Regions from separate parts of the Homo sapiens genome. Here region 2 is linked to region 1. Evidence: promoter capture Hi-C in human tissues and cell types (Jung and others, 2019). All regions are on one chromosome and are shown on one strand. Each heading gives the region's core, a stretch centred on a gene start or on the middle of the fragment in contact. The rest is flanking DNA. Distances are from core to core; before and after follow the strand shown. Region 1 holds the start of PACS1 (phosphofurin acidic cluster sorting protein 1). Region 2 overlaps LOC124902694.

Region 1 (7,024 bases), core at 965-3,464:
AGGATACTGCTTTTGGAGGCTGAGAAAGGCAGCAGAAGCTAGGGCTTCTCTGACTCTTTGGAGATGACCAGGCCCTGATCTCCTTTCCAGGTTATGAGCCGGAAGGGCCCGGCTCCTGAGCTGCAAGGTGTGGAAGTGGCGCTGGCGCCTGAAGAGTTGGAGCTGGATCCTATGGCCATGACCCAGAAGTATGAGGAGCATGTGCGGGAGCAGCAGGCTCAAGTAGAGAAGGAGGACTTCAGTGACATGGTGGCTGAGCACGCTGCCAAACAGAAGGTAGGCGCTTCCAGGGGCGCTGGGCTGGGTGAGAGCCAGGGACCCTGGCCTGCCGTTTTCAGTGGCATGGTGCCCTCTAGTGGTGAGAGTGAGGGTGGCCTCTGCTTGCTGCTCTGTGCTTCCTTAGATTTGGAAGTCTTAGAAATCCTCCAGTGGGCTGCCCTCTTTAAGGACGATGAGGGGGAGGAACTCAGCCAAGTCTGAGAGGGAGCTCGAAGAGAATTCAGATTCAGCGCCTTTCCCACAGACTTCTATGTCTATGTCAGGCTGCCCACCCTTGTTTTGGGGGTCCGGGGGTGGTTCAACCTGTCTTAACCTGTGTCTCTTTCTCCCTATACAGCAAAAAAAACGGAAAGCTCAGCCCCAGGACAGCCGTGGGGGCAGCAAGAAATATAAGGAGTTCAAGTTTTAGGTCCCCTCACACTAGCCCTTTTTTTGGCCCTACGTCTGGATGCCTGGGCTTCACACAAGAACCACCTCTCCCGCAGTTCCCAAGGACTTGTCATTTCATGTTCTTATTTTAGACCTGTTTTGTAAATAAAGCTGTTTCCCAAGGAAAGAGATGAATATTTAACACTCCTGAGCCTCCCTCATCTCCTTTTAGCCCCTTCTTGCAAAAGGACTAAAATAGTCTCTTTCTACAATCACTGGGCTGCCCCAGTAACCACGAACATAAACTGGGATTAGACGGCGCATTTGACTGGTGGTGACGCCAACCCCAGGCTGAAATCTGTGTTTCACCACTGCCCTGCTTTGTAGGAAGGCTTGGGGGAAGTACCTCTAGGTCTGGTTTGACCTTACTACTTTGTCCTTGGGGAGTAAAAATAGCCAGATTAGCGCCCTAGCGCGGCAGAGGAAGTAACAGTGGGCTTGGGAAGTAGGCCAGGGCAGGCCTTCCCAACTGACCTTGTGACCAGAAGTTCAAGTCCTTACCTGTGCGACAACATAGCTCAAAAGCTAAATTGTCTTGAGTCCATATGAACCCTTGGGTTCAAGCAACACTAGTCGCTGGGGTTTGGGATTTGTATGTGGGATGGGGGGACTTACTTTCTCCAGGTTGTAATCTGGTCCTGAGCAGCCTTTCTGACAGACTAGAGCAGGCTGGATCACTGGCTCCCATGGGCATTTGCCAGCCTGTGGGGAGGGTAGTCATGCGCTGCTGTTGTACTACTGTTGGTGTTTAAGTGCACCAGTGGAGGCGCTCACTTGCCGGAGGGTTCAAGATGGTCTCGGGGTTGTGGGGGGCATGATCCAGATAGGACGTGGCAGCTGAGCTAGGCCTTAGGAGGAATGGAATTTTAGAAATTTGGTAAGCAACAAAGCACTGGCACTCTAAAGAGGCATTTGGGGGGTAGGGAAAGAAGAGGAAGGTTGGCTCCAGATGGGCCCCGGGGTAGCTTGAGAATTCACTTATGCGAAGAACCTTCTGGACTCCAGGTCCCTGAGCCCCCGCTTGCCCTCGGGGCGGGAACTTCCCGGATCACAGGCACCCGCGGTGGCAGCGGGCCCCGGGTCTCCGCCGACCTCTCTGTTTGCCGGGGCCGCAGGGCAGGGCTAGGTCGGCAGGCGGAGAGCCGGCTTCCCCGGGCAGACCCCCACCGCTGGGGGCGGGTTCCGCATTGGCTCCGAAGACCCGAGGGGCCGAGGCGCGCTCCCGCGGCGGCCCCCTCCCTGCAGGGACCGAATCCCGGAAAAGCCGGGTTTCCGCTGGCGGGGCCGCGGCCGGCCGTGGGCGGGGAGGGGAGGAGCGGGGGCAGACTGGCAGCGGATTTGAGGGCAGGACCCGTGGGCGCGCGCTGGCCACAGACCACCCCTTCTACTCCGCGGGAGCGAGGGGCGCGCGTGGCTGCACGCAGGGCGCGAGCGCGCCCGGCCCGGCCCCTCCGCGCTGGGTGGGGCCGCGCGGGCCGGGCTCCCCGCCCCCTCCCGGACACGCCCACCCGTGTCGGCCTCGCGAGCCGCAACAGGCAGCGGCGGTCGAGCGCGAGGCCCGCGCGCCCAGAGGCCCCGCGCGTGCGTGCAGCTCGCTGGCTGCTCGCGCTCGGGCAGGCGGGCTGAGGAGGCTGCCGCGCCCCCGCCGCCGCCGCCGCGGGGGAAGCCTGGGAGCCAGATCGGCGTCGCCTCGGCCTCCGTAACCCCCGCCTAGCCGGGCCATGGCGGAACGCGGAGGGGCGGGCGGTGGTCCCGGAGGCGCCGGGGGCGGCAGCGGCCAGCGGGGATCCGGGGTCGCCCAGTCCCCTCAGCAGCCGCCGCCGCAGCAGCAGCAGCAGCAGCCGCCGCAGCAGCCGACGCCCCCCAAGCTGGCCCAGGCCACCTCGTCGTCCTCGTCCACCTCGGCGGCGGCTGCCTCCTCCTCGTCCTCGTCTACCTCCACCTCCATGGCCGTGGCGGTGGCCTCGGGCTCCGCGCCTCCCGGTGGCCCGGGGCCAGGCCGCACCCCCGCCCCGGTGCAGATGAACCTGTACGCCACCTGGGAGGTGGACCGGAGCTCGTCCAGCTGCGTGCCTAGGTGAGCGCGGGAGGGTGCGGCGGGGCGCCGGGGGAGCGGGGTGGCCGCCGGGGCCCAGCCCTCCCCGCCCCAGCGCCCATGGGGTCCCCGCCCTCCATCTCCCCGACTGTCCCGCGGCCCGGCCTGGCTCCAGCCAGGCCTCCCGGGACTCCTGCCACGGGGACCCGCCCTCTCCTGGCAGCCCCACCTTCTGCCTGGGGCCGGGACCACCCTTCTGTCCTCCCCGAGGGACCTTCTGGCCTCGGCCCCGGGCTTTCTCCGATTGGGCTGACCGAATCCGGCCTTCCTGGCAGTCAGTTTCCCTGAGTAAGTCACTCTCCTGCCTCGCCGGCGCCGGGAGCTGTACATACATGGATGTGGTATAGATCTCTTGATATTATTATTTCCCAATAGACTCAGCATGTGCCAAACTCGATTGTCACCTCTTGCAGGTAAAGCTCATATAATCACCCTAGGGGCTTCTCATTAGCCTTCGGCACACATGTTCATTTGAACTTCATATTACACACGTTCTGTCCCAAGCGCTAGGCTCTTAGTTTTGGGGCCCTATTTAATGTGTCCTCAAGTGTATTTTTACCTCCCCTCCCCCACTAAAACTGGTCCCAGAATCTCCCAGCTCTGCAGGGCTGTATGAAATTACTGCCTTGTTCCTAAATTCAATCCATTGCTCTCTGTCTGTTGGAACCATCTGGGGACTTTCCTTCCATTGGCAAAATAGGCCTGAGTTTGGGAATATTTTCTGTTTTTGTATTGGCAAGGCAGTCTGTCTCCAACTCTGGGGACAGGGTGCTGTGTCTTACAGTTTGCCACTTGAATAAGACGGTGTGTGGAGCTGGTTTCACCCAGAAAGCCCAGAGAAGTGCCTGGAGGTGTTCTTTTTTGTCACCTTGTAGCTGAGTTGATTCTGTTGCCTTGAAGTCTTGGGCTGTCTCCTCACTGTTGGTTAGGCAGACGGATGTGTAAGTCAGAGTTAGAGAGGATTGCTGGGCTCCCCCCTCGACTGTCTTCCTTTCCCCACCTTTATTCTGGATAATATTGTTTTATATATATATCCCAGATAGGAATGATGAGAGTACATCTTTCTGTTTCGCTCAGCTTAAGGAACAGAGCATTATCGCTTCTGTTGAAGCTCTCAGGGTGCCCCTTCCTGACTGTCTCCCCTCTTCCTTCTACAAAGGTAAACACTATTTTGAATTGTGTTTATCATTTCCCTTGTTAGAAAAAAATTAGTTTTACTACATAATGCATCTCTATATATTTTATAGTTCTGAATGTTCTTGAAGTTTGTGTACATGGTGTCATCCTGTATGTGTTCTGTGACTTGATTGGTTTTTTTATTTTTTTTTAAATCAGCATTAGGTTTGTGAGAATCATCCATGTGGTATGGTAGCCATAGTTTAAATATTTTCATGATGGGTAGTATTCTGTTGTGTGAATGAATATACCGTAATTCTCTTGAATATGTAGGTTGTTTCCTGTTTAACACCCACAGTAATGCACACATTTCCCCCCAGGACTCCTAGTGCTCTTGTGCAGAAGTTTCTTTAGGTTGTATTCATATGGAGGGGTGGGATTGCCGCTCGCAGGGTATAGATCTGGGACTTCACTAGGCAAAAGTAGATTGTTTCCACAGGCTGCTTCCACTCTGTGTTTCCACATCACTTAACAGATTTACACATTGTTTTTTTTTTCTCTGTCCTTTCTCTAGGGAAATCAGGAGCCACATTAATTTAGTTTGCTGTGGCCAGATCCATAGCACAACACCAAGCTCAAGCGAGAGTTGAGTATGTGATGGTGTTCCTCTCTTGATCCTAAGCAGGCCTCTCTCTTTCTATACAGGCCCATCTATCGCTGAAGTATCCTAACCCACCTCTTTCACACATAGAAACACTGTGTTCCTTCCTACGTGGGTCCAGTCTTTCCCATTTCTCCTTCACTTTCATGCCTGTGTTTGGTGACGTTTGGGCAGCTGCCTTCTCCATCTCGTTAGGTTGAAAAGGCGCGAGCCTACTGGCAAGGAGCTGCAGCAGAGGGGCGTGAATGAAATCATTGACTGCTGTTGATGTTTGGTCTGCCCCTAGGTCTTTTGGTCACTGCAAAGTCCACGTAATAAATTATTAGCCTAAGAAACAGCCAGGCATCCTGATCAAATGTATAATTATTATGCTAACTTGCTGTGAGAGGCTTAGGCGGACTTATTTTTACATTCCGGGAGTGTGCAGTTACGTCACGTTTACTGACCAGTCCTTGAGCTTGTCCACTGTCCTGCTCCGACATTGTTTTTCATCCATCACCCTTGTACCTCCTCACTCCTTGTGGAACACATGTGCTCTTTGAGCATTTTGCAGGCCAGAATAACACTCTGTGGGGAGAAAATGGCCTGCCATTGGTCTTTCCAATTATTAGAGTCATCTGGTTAATTTGAGGTCTCCTGGGTGTCCTTGTTCATGTTGTTTAGAATATATAGGCAACATGCAGCACTCTGTGGAGGGATTAACATTCTTGTCTCATGTAACTCAAACGGGACACAAATATATGAGATACATGCCCCTTAGAAATGTAAACATGATTGTGGATCTAAGGTTAGGTGTGCATAAGAATGTCATGGGATTTGGTCTCTTAGGGCAGAGAAGAGGGGCTCGAACAGTACAGTGTTAGGAAGGTCCTGCTGCTTTTCTTGATGCCTGTCAAAATATAATTTTCTTTTGAAAAAAATACCGTTTCCTGTATTAGATATTTAAATAAAGAGCAGTGTAGTTGTTCTTCAGGTAGGTGTCTGCTCTTATTTAACATCTGTTAAATTCCCCCAGAATACATAGTACTTTTGAAAAACTTTATATAGGTGAATAGCTTACTCACAGCTGGTTTTAAAAGAATGAAATTGTTCTGTTGATCACATTTTTCACCAGCATTTTTTGTTTTTTTTCTTTAGATGGAGTCTTGCTCTGTCATCCAGGCTACAGTGTAGTGGCACAGTCATAGCTCACTGCAGCCTCCAACTCCTGGGCTCAGCAATCCTCCAGCCTCAGCCTCCCAAGTAGCTGGGACTATAGGCATGTGACATCACACCTGGCTTTTTTTTTTTTTTTTTTTTTTTTTTTAAAAACAGGGTCTCACTATGTTGCCCAGGCTGGTCTTGAACTCCTTGCTTCAAACTGTCCTCCTACCTCGGACTCCCAAAGTGCTGAGATTACAGGTGTGAGCCACTGTGCCCAGCCTTTTACCAGCATTTTTTTTAAAGACAAAATGATTAATATATGTCCATGATTAGAAATTTGAGCAGTATGGAAAGATGGAAAGCACAAAGGAAAAAGCCCCCAGTCCATCCCTCTTCTCACTTCCCAGAGGTAATCACTGTGAAATACAGTTGGCTTTTAAGATTCTGTTACAAAAAGGTAGTTTTGCTATAGTTCCTTTATCTTTTATGAAATTCAAGCTTTAGAAGTTAGCATTGTTTTCCCTTCATGCTAAGTAGTACTTCCTCTACTATGGTCCAGTATGGCATGGACCGTGGTGCAGGGTTATGGGGACCAGGTGGCATGCTGCTTGATGTTAAAGGAAGGGTGTTAGAGCCTCATTGTTGATCCCTTCCCTTCTGCCTTTGTATGGTGAGGTTTCCCTGATGTTCTTTTCTTTTTGTGTTGCTGTAAGTAGGAGAGGCAGAAAAATTACTAAATTTTACAAGCATTCAAAATTTCCTCAGTGGCATAAAAGTGATTATTAAGAGATGAAATGTGCTCTGCTGTATCATTCGCAAACCATATCCAAAGCCCATTTGCATACCCTTATGTGTATGTGAACTTAGGGTAGGAGTTGGCAGTTATCAGTCACTTTTCTCCTTAGGTCACATTTTTTTTAAGTGGGTGCTGAGGTCAAGCCTTAATGGACAAAAGCGTTGGAATCACAGAAGGTGGCCATAGCTGAGTTGGCATGACTGGTCTGCAGCAGAAGTGTTACTTTCATGAAAACGCTTGGGGGCATTTGCCCCTTTAACCACAGAAGCACTATACGAGCCAAGATATACTACTCTATCTTCTTACTATATACTAGGACAAACTCTTCCATGCATTAGTTTAATTTTATTAATTTTTTTTTGGTGTTTTTTTTTTTTTTTTTTTGAGATGGAGTCTCGCTCTGTCGCCCAGGCTGGAGTGCAGTGGTGCAATCTCGGCTCACTGCAAGCTCCGCCTCCCAGGTTCGCTCCATTCTCCTGCCTCAGCCTCCCGAGTAGCTGGGACT
Region 2 (7,452 bases), core at 801-3,300, 180 kb after region 1:
CCCCGGGCAAAGAAGAGGAAATCAGCTGTGTAGGGACAGTTTGGAGCACAAGGCAACTCAGGTGGAAGGTGCTGACTCAGACCCTGAAGCAGCTGTGCCCAGTCACCAGGAGTTAAGGCTGGACCAGAGCAGAGCTGCCCAAGGTCCGCCAGAGACTAAAGGCTTTTTGATGCAGAAAGTGGAAGAGCCTCTATCTAACCTGCACGCCAACTCCAGACTGGTTTTATTTTTAAGTAAACTATTTTAGAATACCTTTAGATTTATGGAAAAGTTGCAAAAATAGTAGAAAGAGTGGCTATATACCGCCCTGCCAGTTTCCCTTACTGTTAACATGTTACATTCATGTGCATTTGTCATAACTAGTGAGTCAATCGTGATGCACGATTATTAACTAAAGTCCCTATTTTGGCCGGGCACGGTGGTTCACTCCCATAATCACAGCACTTGGGGAGGCTGAAGCAGGTGGATCATCTGAGGTCAGGAGTTCAAGACCAGCCTAGCCAATGTGGTGAAACCCCATCTCTACTAAAAATACAAAAATTAGCCAGGCGTGGTGGGCACCTGTAATCGCAGCTACTCGGGAGGCTGAGGCAAGAAAATCGCTTGAACCCGGGAGGCGTAGGTTGCAGTGAGCCAAGATTGCACCACTGCACTCCAACCTGGGCGACAGAGTGAGACTCTTTCTCAAATAAATAAATAAATGTCCCTATTTTATGCATGTCCTTAGTTTTTCCCTAATGTCCTTTCTCCATTTCAGACTCCCACCCAGAATGCCACACTACGTTTGGTCATTCTGTCTTCTTTTTTGTTGTTGATTTTAGAGACCAGGTCTTGCTCTGTTGCCCAGGCTGGAGTGCAGTGGTGCCAACCTAGTTCACTGCAGCCTGGAACTCCTGGGCTCAAGCCATTCTCCTACCTCAGCCTTCTGGGTATCTGGGACTACAGGCATGTGTCATTACACCTGGCTCTTTGTTTTGTTTTGTTTTCTTTCGTTTTTTTTGGTAGAGATAGGGTCTTGAACTGACCTCAGTTATCGATCCTCCTACCTTGCCTCCCAAAGTGCTAGGATTACAGGCGTGAACCAACACATCCAGCCCATTCTGCCTTCTTAGGATCCTTTGGGCTGTGACATTTTCTTAGACTTTTTGATCTCTATTTTTGATGACCTTGACAGTTTTGAGGAGTATTGGTCAGGCATTTTGTAGAATGTCCCTCAGTTGGGGATTGTCTGATGTTCTTCTCGTGGCTGGATGGAGGTTATAGGTTGTGGGGAGGAAGACCTCAAAGGTGAATGCCCTTCTCAGCGCAGCCTGTGAAGGGCACATGCCGTCAACATGACATCATGGATGAGGTTGACCTGGGCTCCTCACTGTAAAGTCCCACACACCTGCTCCCATGCTGTTCTCTTTGGAAGGAAGTTGCTGGTGCAGCCCACACTCGGGTGAGGTGTTGATTATCCCTACATGCATCATCTGGGATTCTGCTGTACAGGAGGTTTCAGACTAATCTTTAAACTGCTTCTTTCGCCACCCCTTTCACCTGCCGTGTCCAAGGACTGACAGCATTAATAGCTGTCACCGTCACCTACAGGGCATTGCCTTTGAGCCAGGCTGCTGCTGAGTGCCTTATATGGTTTATTTCATCGAGTCCTTAAAGCAGCCCTCCCTGTGAAATCAATTCTGCTGATGCTTCCTTTTGCAAAGGAGGAAACCAAAGGTCAGAGCCTCCCCTCCCAACTCTAGAGCCTCCCATCTAACCACTTATGTTGCGACCTGAACACTCACAGTCATCCCAGACTTCACATGGCCAAAGCAAGACTCCTGATTTCCCTTGATCTTCCCCAGTCGGCAATGGCACCAGCCTCCATCCTGTTACTCCAGCCAGAAACCCGGACTCATCCTGCGCCGCCCCTCCCAATCCATCAGCAACTCTTGTCCATGCTGCCTCCCAAACGCTGTTTCCAACTATAAGCCAGGGTACCTTCCTCGCATAGAGTATCCTTTGTCGTCCTATCCTCCCAGTGCCCTCTGAATAGAGGCCAACCACCGTCCACCAGGCCCGTGGTCTGGCTCACTACCTTCACTTCTAGTTGCTTTCCCCCTGCCATGCTCACCACCCTCGAGCCACACCTGACCTTTCAGTGCTCACATCCCTCTTCCAACCCCAGAGTAAGCTCCTTTTCCTTTAAGATGTGGCCTTTGTATCACCTCCTCCAAGAGCCTTCCCCAACCACCCCACCCAAAGCCTGGTTGTTAGCCTCTGTCTCTTCAGTCATAGAGTTCACTATTACCTGCAGCAAATGTCTCTGTACCACATTCGAATGAGAGCTCCAGGAGGACAAAGACCCGAGCCGCCGGACTCATTGTTGCAGTATCCAGCACCCTGGCATGCGGCGGACCCTCGATAAAGGTTGGTTCAGTGCATGAGTGAGGGTTAAGTCACTCGTCCAATGCACACATATCGGCTGAGAAGAGGTCAGGTTTCTAAACCCCATCATCTGACTCAGGCCATATCTCAGGGCCCTACTCAGATCCCATCTTCCCAACCATCCATACATCTGGCTTTTATTAACTTCCTACTAGTTCGTGTCCTAGGTACAGCATGAACCTAGGTTGGGTCCCAACCTATACAGGAACGCTAAGGCCAGTAGGGGAGACAAGCAGACCATCGCCACACAGCATGACAGGTTGCACTGGTGCACACAGGAGGGATGTCCACCCTGCAGGAAGAGGTGTCCAAGAAGATGTCCCAAAGGGAATGACACCTGAGTGGCATACTGAAGACATCTGACAAGGATGGATGTTCTGGGCATAGGAAGTAGCATGAGATAAGGGAGATAAGAGAGATAAGGGAGAATGTGGCTGATGCCAAGAACCACACAGGGCTCAGTGCAGCTGGAGACCATGGGGATGGTGAGTGCCAGTGGGAGCGGAGGAAGAGTCTAGGCCCTGAGGAACCTCGTAGCTGTTACTGTTACCACTGTGAGCCAGAGCAAGGACTGCACACTCTGTCCTGAGAGACAGGGGAGCTGGCGAAGGGACCTAGGCAGAGAAGTGAGACGACATATTTCAGAAAGATCTCCTTAATACAACACACCGGGAGAAACAAGACCTGCTCTGCAGACCAGCAGATGAGCTTGAAGGGTGCAGCAGCCATTTAGAAAAGATGTGATGAGGACATTGTAAAGGTGGAAGGGTTAGAGGGAAATAGATAAATCTGAGAGCGACTTAAGAGGTTGAATTAATAGGTTTTGGTAGCTGGTTAGAAAACGAGAGTTGAGGCCGGGCATGGCGGCTCATGCCTGTAATCCCAGCACTCTGGGAGACCAAGGCAGACAGATCACTTGAGGTCAGGAGTTTGAGACCAGTCTGGCCAACATGGTGAAACCCTGTCTCTACTAAAAATACAAAAATTAACCGGGCATAGTGGCGGGCACCTGTAATCCCAGCTACTTGGGAAGCTGAGCCACAAGAATCGCTTGAACCTGAGAGGCAGAGGTTGCGGTGTGCCAAGATCGCGCCACTGCACTCCAGCCTGGGCAGGCGACAGAGTGAGACTCCGTCTCAAAAAAAGAGGCCTGGCATGGTGGCTCAGCACCTTGGGAGGCCGAGGCGGGCAGATCACCTGAGGTCAGGAGTTCGAAACCAGCCTGACCAACATGGTGAAACCCCGTCTCTACTAAAAATACAAAATTAGCCAGGCATGGTGGCGCATGCCTGTAATCCCAGCTACTCAGGAGGCTGAAGCAGGAAAATCACTTGAACCCTGGTAGCAGAGGTTACAGTGAGCCGAGACAATGCCATTGCACTCCAGCCTGGGCAACAAGAGTGAAACTCCATCTCAAAAAAAAGAAAACAGAGTTGAAAGAGAGTCCAGGACAGACTGACTGTCCTGTGTGAACATCCCTGCAGGAGATTTGGACAGGACTTAGTGCTATTCCAACTGGAAGTGGAATATATGGGTCTGGGTAGAGCTCAGGGGACTGATCTGGGCCAGAGATGGAGATGTGGGCCTCCCCACCGTGTGGGAGAGCTGACGCTGGGGAGAGGTGAGCTCATCCCTCGCTGGGCTCATCTCCTTCCTGATCACATGGGCACCTACGGTCCACACTACACAGCTCACGCTTGCTTCTATTCAGTCTCTGCCGCCTCATTTGTGGCTCACCTTCATTCTGAGTGCATCTCTGTCCAACAACACTGCAGGCAGAAGCTGCCCCGTATTTCTCATTCTTTTCCCACACCTTGCACTCAGGGTCTGTTGACTACTAAGCTTGATGGTGATGAGAATAAACAACCACTAGGAATAGTGTCTGTTATGTACAAGGCCTAATGTTAAGCCTTTATGCCTTTTTTGTTTGTTTGTTTTTGGTTTTTGAGACAGAGTCTCGCTCTGTCCCCCAGGCTGGAGTGCAGTGGCGCGATCTCGGCTCACCGCAAGCTCCGCCTCCCGGGTTCGCGCCATTCTCCTGCCTCAGCCTCCCGAGCCACCATGCCCGGCTAATTTTTTGTATTTTTAGTAGAGACGGGGTTTCACCATGTTAGCCAGGATGGTCTCGATTTCCTGACCTCGTGATCCCCCCGCCTCGGCCTCCCAAAGTGCTGGGATTACAGGCGTGAGCCACCGTGCCCAGCCCCTTTATGCCATTTTATTGCATTCTCTGGATGTCCCAACAAAGTAGGTAATAGGAACCCTGCTTTACAGATGAGGAAGCAGGTAAAATAACAGACCATGCCTAAAAAGCGACACCACTAGCAAATGGAGAAACGCGGCTTTGAACTTAGCTGAGTCTGACCCCAAGGCCTGCGGTCCCTCCACTGAGCAGGGCAGGACCGGTCTACCCTGGCTGGGAGGTCACAAGGAAGAGAGGGTGCAGATTTGCCATAAGGCCACAGGACAGGAACCAGGAGCCTCTGGGGACAGCTTTGAGTAGACTGATTCTTGGCTCAGTGGCAGAAAGAACCAACAACTAGTGGTGTCCAAGGTAGACAAGGGCCCCTCAGGAAGCTCAGGAAGCTGGGGAGACATGGTCTTTAAGGAGCCTCCCATCTTGAGCACTTATGGGTGAATGTGCTGACTTTTTTTTTTTTTTTTTTTTTGAGACAGAGTCTCACTCTGTCGCCCAGGCCTCTCAGGTTCAAGCAATTCTCCTGCCTCAGCCTCCCAAGTAGCTGGGACTACAGGCAAGAGCTACCACACCTGGCTAATTTGTTGTATTTTTAGTAGAGACAGGGTTTCACCATGTTGGCCAGGCTAGTCTCAAACTCCTGACCTCAAGTGATCCGCCCATCTCGGCCTCCCAAAGTGCTGGGATTACAGACGTGGGCCACTGTGCCCGGCCATATCTGCTGACATTTCAAGTGGGACGACAGCCTTGGCAAAAGTGCCCCAGCCACTTCAGAGAAAGGGAGGGAATCTAGCCAAAAGAAAAAGAATAATTTAAGAAAGCAGATTTCAGTGGGACGAGGGCTTCTGAGGATCTAAAGGGATGCAGTAGGAGAAGTGGGAGTGATTTTCAGGGAGGAAACAGTAATATTAAAAGTAGCAAGAACAACTTCCCAGGCATGGGATGGCAGGGGGCTGCTGAGCACTGTGGAAAGAGCATAAGGAGCTGAATCACCACTGGGCATGGATTTCTTCCTTTATTCTCCATTTACTGAGTGCCCATCAGCAGCCTGGCATGAGATCAGCAGCTGCTGGAGGAGCACAGGACAGTGCAGGATGAAGTAACAGTCTCTTCCTTTGGGAGACACACAGTGCAATCCTCAGAGACAAGATAAAAAGCCAAGTGGCTGAAAGGGCCGAACACATGCGAGGCTAAGCGACAAGAGAATGAGAACCAGCAGGGAAGGCCCAGCCTTCCCCCACCAGCACACCGGGCGGAGCAGCCAGCGCCTAAGGAGAATCCCAAAGGAACCACTGAAGCCCACAGATGGTGAGCAGAACAATTGGAGCCAGGAACCTGCACAAGTCACAAAGGGAGATTGAGAAGTGTTCTCTCCATTTACCGGGAAAAAGGTGATAAAATAAATGTGCTCCTTGGCCGGGCGCAGTGGCTCACGCCTGTAATCCCAACACTTGGGGAGGCTGAGGCGAGTGGATCACCTGAGGTCAGGAGTTTGAGACCAGCCTGGCCAACAAAAAATTAGCCAGGTGTGGTGGCAGGCGCCTGTAATCCCAGCTACTCGGGAGGCTGAGGCAGGAGAATGGCGTGAACCTGGGAGGCAGAGGTTGCAGTGAGCTGAAATTGCACCACTGCGCTCCTGCCTGGGGAACACAGCAAGGCTCTGTCTCAAAACAAACAAACAAACAAAAAAGCCCATTGAGCCCGGTGCAGCCGCCTTTCACTTCTCTGAGCCTCAGTTTCTTCACCTGCAAAACAGAGACACTGAAACAGCACTTTCAATCCAGGGCGCACAGCACAGGCACCACTTAAGCTTTAAAGCCACAAGAGGCGGCCGGGCTCCGTGGCTCACACCTGTAATCCCAGCACTTTGGGAGGCCGAGGTGGGATGATCGCTTGATCCCAGTAGTTCAAGAACAGCCTGGGCAACATATGGACAGCCCATCTCTACAAAAAATAAAAATTAGCTGGGCATGGTGAGCACCTGCCTGTAGTCCCAGCTACTCAAGAGGCTGAGGCGGGAGGATCACTTGAGCCCAGGAGTTCAAGGCTGCAGTGAACTATGATTGTGGCACTGCACTGCACCCTGGGTGACAGTGGGACCTCGGCTCTTAAAAAAAAAAAAAAAAAAAAGTCCACTTTGGGAGGCCAAGGTGGGCGGATCATGGTAAATGGTAAATGGTAAAAATAATGGTAAAACCCTATCTCTACTAAAAACACAAAAATTAGCCAGTGTGGTGGCATGCGCCTGTAGTCCCAGCTACTTGGAAGGCTGAGGCAGAAGAATCGCTTGAACCCAGGAGGCAGAGGTTGCAGTGAGCCAAGATTGCACCACTGCACTCCAGCCTGGGCGACAGAGCATGACTCCATCTCAAAAAAAAAAAAGTCCCAAGAGGTGCCCAGGATTCACCCTGGCACCACCAAATCTCAATCTCTAGAGGGAAAGCCTTCTAAGAAAGTTATTTCTCAAAAGATTTTGAAACCCAGTGTCATGAAGAACAAAAGTGCCTTGTGCTCCATATTCTGTTTCCTCCCTGTGAACAGAACATGCTGGGCAGGTGGGAGTCCAGTCATGGTCGGATGTAGTCTCTATGCACAGAGGCAGACTTACCAAAATGCAATCAGTGCAACATATATGTAGGTATATATTTTGAGACAGGGTCTGGCTTTGCCGCCCAGGCTGGAGTTCAGTGGCATGATGTTATTTCTGCTCACTGCAACCTCCACCTCCTGGCTTGAGCCATCCTCCCACCTCAGCCTCCTGAGTTGCTAGGACTACAGGTACACACCACCATGCCTAGCTAGTTTTTGTATTTTTGTAGAGATGGGGT

What was found. Contacts are between HindIII fragments. The study calls those that stand out against the background at their distance.
Region 2: a contact is called between a fragment that was not itself captured here and the fragment with the promoter of PACS1 in region 1, in 1 of the 25 tissues and cell types used here (bladder).

The regions. Positions count from the first base shown.
Region 1 is chr11:66,068,058-66,075,081 of GRCh38, forward strand. It overlaps PACS1 (phosphofurin acidic cluster sorting protein 1), which reads left to right and starts at 2,215. Exons shown (of 24, transcript NM_018026.4): 1 at 2,215-2,785. The coding sequence starts at 2,430. SF3B2 (splicing factor 3b subunit 2) reads left to right here. Exons shown (of 22, transcript NM_006842.3): 21 at 91-276; 22 at 617-1,251. The coding sequence ends at 688. RefSeq lists an enhancer at 68-227 and silencers at 1,775-2,394, 2,405-2,454, 2,605-2,734, 2,745-2,894, 2,955-3,159 and 1 more. The HindIII fragment of the contact is 13,254 bases long and covers 1-7,024 here.
Region 2 is chr11:66,247,931-66,255,382 of GRCh38, forward strand. All of the region lies in intron 1 of LOC124902694, which reads right to left. It also overlaps a transcript of KLC2 not described here. Among named protein-coding and RNA genes, the nearest start is that of KLC2, 6.0 kb to the right of the region's middle. RefSeq lists an enhancer at 5,662-6,163. The HindIII fragment of the contact is 6,602 bases long and covers 1-5,351 here.